Linked DNA regions of Homo sapiens: region 1 is linked to region 2. The links are contacts of gene promoters, found by promoter capture Hi-C in human tissues and cell types (Jung and others, 2019). All regions are on one chromosome and are shown on one strand. The core of a region is centred on a gene start or on the middle of the fragment in contact, and the rest is flanking DNA. Distances in the headings are between cores, read along the strand shown.

Evidence for each region. Contacts are between HindIII fragments. The study calls those that stand out against the background at their distance.
Region 1: a fragment that was not itself captured here is called in contact with the fragment with the promoter of NLRP8 in region 2 in 2 of the 25 tissues and cell types used here (spleen and thymus).

Annotation. Positions count from the first base shown.
Region 1 is chr19:56,338,551-56,341,250 of GRCh38, forward strand. It overlaps ZSCAN5A-AS1 (ZSCAN5A antisense RNA 1), which reads left to right. Exons shown (of 3, transcript NR_186830.1): 3 at 2,236-2,652. It also overlaps a transcript of ZSCAN5A not described here and the pseudogene VN2R18P. Among named protein-coding and RNA genes, the nearest start is that of ZSCAN5A, 25 kb to the left of the region's middle. The HindIII fragment of the contact is 4,392 bases long and covers 1-2,700 here.
Region 2 is chr19:55,946,445-55,949,144 of GRCh38, forward strand. NLRP8 (NLR family pyrin domain containing 8) reads left to right here and starts at 1,388. Exons shown (of 10, transcript NM_001433706.1): 1 at 1,388-1,825. The coding sequence starts at 1,459. The HindIII fragment of the contact is 14,722 bases long and covers 1-2,700 here.

The sequences.
Region 1 (2,700 bases), core at 119-2,618, 390 kb after region 2:
AGGAAGACTACAGCAAAGGTCCCCAGAACCAAGAAGCCCAAATAGCTCAAGACACAGTAGAAAACAGTGATAGAGCCCCCATTACACTGGATGATGATTATACCAGGACTATGGGTCTTTGTCTAGGGAGGAAGGAGATGTTTCCAACTAGATTCCAGAGATGGTCACTTGGATGAGGGGGCAAAGGTGACAACAGAATGAGATTTTAGGGTACCCAACAGGACCTTGGGTCCTGGCTGGCCTTGTAGCTTTCCCATCCTGCTAGCTGGCCTTGTAGCTTGGAAGGCCATGACCACAGTGAAAGTTTTGGCTGAAGCAGAAGACACAGCCACTGTGAACTGAACTGAAAAGGTGGCCTGTTCCCAGGGTTCAAAGCATATATGGAAGGAGAAAGCTTGACAGTGACGTAATGTATTTGGAGTGCAAAAATGCCTGCAGGGAATTCATTCTAAATGGGGAGAAATACAGAACAGGCCTTAGGAACAATGTGACCTGGGCATTGTCATCTTTTCATTGTAACTAATTACAGACTGCACTGGATTTGTGAGACATATGACAGCAAACCTTTTCTGTAAAGGGTAATAAATATTTACAGTTTGCAAACCAGAAGGTGTCTGTGGCAACTATTCAAGTCTTCTCTTGCAGATTGAAAGCCACTGTAAGCAATATGCAAAGGAGCAGTTGTAGCCGTATTTAGCAATATGCAAAGGAGCAGCTGTAGCCATATTTAGCAATATGCGAAGGAGCGGCTGTAGCCGCATTTAGCAATATGTGAAGGAGCGGCTGTAGCCGCATTTAGCAATATGTGAAGGAGCGGCTGTAGCCGCATTTAGCAATATGTGAAGGAGCGGCTGTAGCCGCATTTAGCAATATGTGAAGGAGCGGCTGTAGCCGCATTTAGCAATATGTGAAGGAGCGGCTGTAGCCGCATTTAGCAATATGTGAAGGAGCGGCTGTAGCCGCATTTAGCAATATGTGAAGGAGCGGCTGTAGCCGCATTTAGCAATATGTGAAGGAGCGGCTGTAGCCGCATTTAGCAATATGTGAAGGAGCGGCTGTAGCCGCATTTAGCAATATGTGAAGGAGCGGCTGTAGCCGCATTTAGCAATATGTGAAGGAGCGGCTGTAGCCGCATTTAGCAATATGTGAAGGAGCGGCTGTAGCCGCATTTAGCAATATGTGAAGGAGCGGCTGTAGCCGCATTTAGCAATATGTGAAGGAGCGGTTGTAGCCGCATTTAGCAATATGTGAAGGAGCGGTTGTAGCCGCATTTAGCAATATGTGAAGGAGCGGTTGTAGCCGTATTTAGCAATATGTAAAGGAGGAATTGCAGCCATATTTAGCCTGTGGGCCAAGATTTGCCTGCCCTTGCTCTAGATGACTTAGAGAACTCAACACCTGCCCACACTGACCCTTCCAATCTGTTCCTGGGGATTGTCTGATACTACTGTCTTGGGGAAAGTCTGAGCATTTTTCCCCTCCTCCATCCAAACCCAAAATGGACAGAGAAAACTCACTTTGTGCAAAATGGAAATCCAAATGGAAATTGGATTCCATTTGGATTTCCATTTTGCTATGGAGACTCATGCAACCTGTTCTGTGGCCAACTGGACCTAGAAGGATGGTGTTCTCTCAGAATTTGCAGGATAAAGTTACCCAAAGAGTAAACATGAGTTGAATGTCAACTTTCAGAAGGAATCATTTGAAAGCCCCCCTATCATCTTTCTGTCAGCAAAATGTCTCTCAAGGCAGTGCCTGCATTCAAAGTAGCAGTGGAGCCAGCAGGGCAGCTCTCACTGCAGACGGAATGAGAAAACTGGAGGAAGCAGAGTTCTAAGGTTAGATTGTCGGATCTCCAGGAGAACGAAGTTCAAAACCACTTTTCCTTTTCACAATTCTCTTGATTCTTCTCTTAGTATGAGTCAGGGTAGCAGGTCACATCAATGTCATGAAAGGAATACTAATGATAATAATTTAGGATATTTTTGGCTACAGCTAGAGAAATCTCAAACAAACAAGCTTAATCAGGAAAGCTTTTGACACATAGTTGGAAATGGAGGTACTTATGTGTTTCTGAAATCCTGTTTTTATTGGCTTCTCATTGGCTTTTTCATGATGGCAAAATTATACTTAGCTGTTAGAGCCTTCATATCCATGAACTACAATTTCTGTGGAATAAGAAGGAGATATACTGGAACTGAAGCTTTTGGTAACCTCGAATTTTCATTTTGGCAGGCAAACCAAAGAGAAGAAAGACTTTGTGCTTGAGAGTTGAAAATGAGACCACCTTGCCATGTCAATTCAGGTCTCTTAAAGTCTTCCCTTGCAGGAGAAGAGGGAAGTGAAAAGATCTTCTTGTGAACAGGGTCTGGTGTGGACCTCCAGCAAACTCCAACAGATTAATTCATTGACAGAATGGGATTGTCTTGTGAAAGGGAAATATCTTGGATCCCTTCAAGCTGGGAACCCCTCAGGGCAAATCTGCCTACTTCTGTCAATTCATCAATCTCATTCTCCGTCCAGTTTTGTGCCCTTGCTGGAGAGGAGTTGCCATCATTTGTCATACACAAGTATCAATAGCCAAATTGATCACGCAAAAGAAACGATATCAGAGATTGAAGATCAACTTACTAAAATAAGGCATGAAGAAAAGATTAGAGAAAAAAGAATGAAAAGGAACTAACAAAGCCTCCAAGAAAT
Region 2 (2,700 bases), core at 138-2,637:
CAGAGTGAGACTCTGTCTCTAAGTAAATAAATAAATAATAAATAAATAAACTATTATTGGAAGTTGGGGCAGGGGGGACAAAAATACACCCATGATCCTTTTTATTTTATTTCTTTTTTACATTTCTTTTAGATACAGGGGTACATGTGCAGGTTTGTTATATAGGCAAACGTGTTATGGGGGTGGGTTTGTTGTACAGGTTATCTCATCACCCAGGTATTAATCCCAGTACCCATTAGTTATTTTTCCTGATCTTCTCCCTCCTCCCACCCTCCAGCCTCTAGCAGACTCCAGTGTGTGGTGTTCCCTCTATGTGTCCATGTGTTCTCATCGTTTAGCTACCACTTATAAATGAGCACATGTGGTATTTGGTTTCCTGTTCCTGTGTTAGTTTGCTAAGGAATAATGGTCTCTGGCTCCATCTATGTTCCTGCAAAGGTCATGATCTCATTCTTTTTTATGGCTGCATAGTATTCCATGGTGTTTATGTACCACATTTTTTTATCCGGTCTATCACTGATGGGCATTTAGGTTGATTCCATGACTTTGCTATTGTGAGTAGTGCTGCAATGAACATACACAGGAATGTGTCTTTATAATAGAATGATTTATATTCCTTTGGATATATATCCAGTAATGGGATTGCTGAGTTGAATGGTAGTTCTCTTTTTAGGTCTTTGAGGAGTTGCCCCACTGTCATCCAGAGTAGTTGAACTAATTTACACTCCCACACACAGAGTATAAGTGTTCCTTTTTCTCTGCGACTTCACCAGCATCTGTTATTGCTTGACTTTTTAATAATCACCATTCTGACTGGTGTGAGATGACATCTCGTTGTGGTTTTGATTTGCATCTCTCTAATACATGATCCATTTTTTAAGAATACAGCATCTGTTATTGCTTGACTTTTTAATAATCACCATTCTGACTGGTGTGAGATGACATCTCGTTGTGGTTTTGATTTGCATCTCTCTAATACATGATCCATTTTTTTAAGAATAAAAACTTTGTTGAATTTGAGATCACTTTTAATCTAATGGAGCCTTCTAACCAACCATATATTTTCTAGATTTTAGCTTCACTGAATTATTTTACCTGCTTCTAATTTTTCTTTTCGCTAAACCTTTTGTGAAGGCTTTGATATTTTGCTTGCCTCTTCCCCAAAAGAAGTCATGGAGAATAGAAACTACAAACAATCCATTAGTCTAATGGACTAATCCCAAACATTCCATGCATCTTCAGTTTTTCCATAGGGCAGAGAATCTTTGAGGAAAGGAGGTAAAGGGAGTACCCGGCACGCAGAATACCTGCCAAGTAAGCATTACACGAATCTGTTTTCTTGGGTAGTGTTTTCATCTTCTTGTTTTATTGTTTTATGTCTCTGCAGGTCTCGTGTTTCTCTCTTCCAATCGGTTGTCTTTATCGTGGACACTGAGGTGTTCTCTGCCTTGACTAAAGATGAGTGACGTGAATCCACCCTCTGACACCCCCATTCCCTTTTCATCCTCCTCCACTCACAGTTCTCATATTCCGCCCTGGACATTCTCTTGCTACCCCGGCTCCCCATGTGAAAATGGGGTCATGCTGTACATGAGAAACGTGAGCCATGAGGAGCTACAACGGTTCAAGCAGCTCTTACTGACTGAGCTCAGTACTGGCACCATGCCCATCACCTGGGACCAGGTCGAGACAGCCAGCTGGGCAGAGGTGGTTCATCTCTTGATAGAGCGTTTCCCTGGACGACGCGCTTGGGATGTGACTTCGAACATCTTTGCCATTATGAACTGTGATAAAATGTGTGTTGTAGTCCGCAGAGAGATAAATGGTGAGTGTTGATCTGGTGGATAAAGTGGGGGTGGGCTTGGCTGCTGGGCAGCTAAACTACTCTAGTCACCACCCCTATCACTTATTGGCCTTCTGAGCAAGAAAGCAAACAGTGGAGGAAGATAATGGATCTAACCCAAAGGCAAAGACTGTCATACGGGCATTTTTTTAATTTTATTTTTCTGAGATGGGGTTTCGCTCTTCTTGCCCAGGCTGAAGTGCAATGGCACAATCTCGGCTCACTGCAAACCCCGCCTCCCAGGTACAGGTGATTCTCCTGCCTCAGCCTCCTGAGTAGCTGGGATTACAGGCACCCACCACCATGCCTGGGTAATTTTTTTTTATTTTTAGTAGAGACGGGGTTTCACCATGTTGGCCAGGCTGGTCTCGAACTACTGACCTCAGGTAATCCGCCTGCCTTGGCCCCCCAAAGTGCTGGGATTGCAGGTGTGAGCCACTGTGCCCAGCCCATATGGGCCTATTTTTTAAAAACTTAACTGAATACTGCTTATATGAGGTGAACGTTAAATGAAGTCATAGAGAAGTAGGAAGTAAAATAGTGGAAAAGCATATGCTATGGAAACAGCAGAAGACAGCTGGTATAGCTATGGTGATGTCAGGAGTGCTATATTTAAAGCAAGAAGGTTAAACACTTTAAAAGGCCATTTCGCAGCAACAAAGGGTGAATCCCACTGGAGGATATTGTAATCCAAAACCTCATCTTCAATATGAATAAAGCAGAGCTGGACTACAGTCATCCCCTTATCCAAGGTTTTGCTTTCTGAAGTTTGGGTTGATCATGGCCAAAAATAGATGAGTACAGTACACTGAGATATTCTGAGACAGAGAGAGACCACATTTACATACCGTTTATGA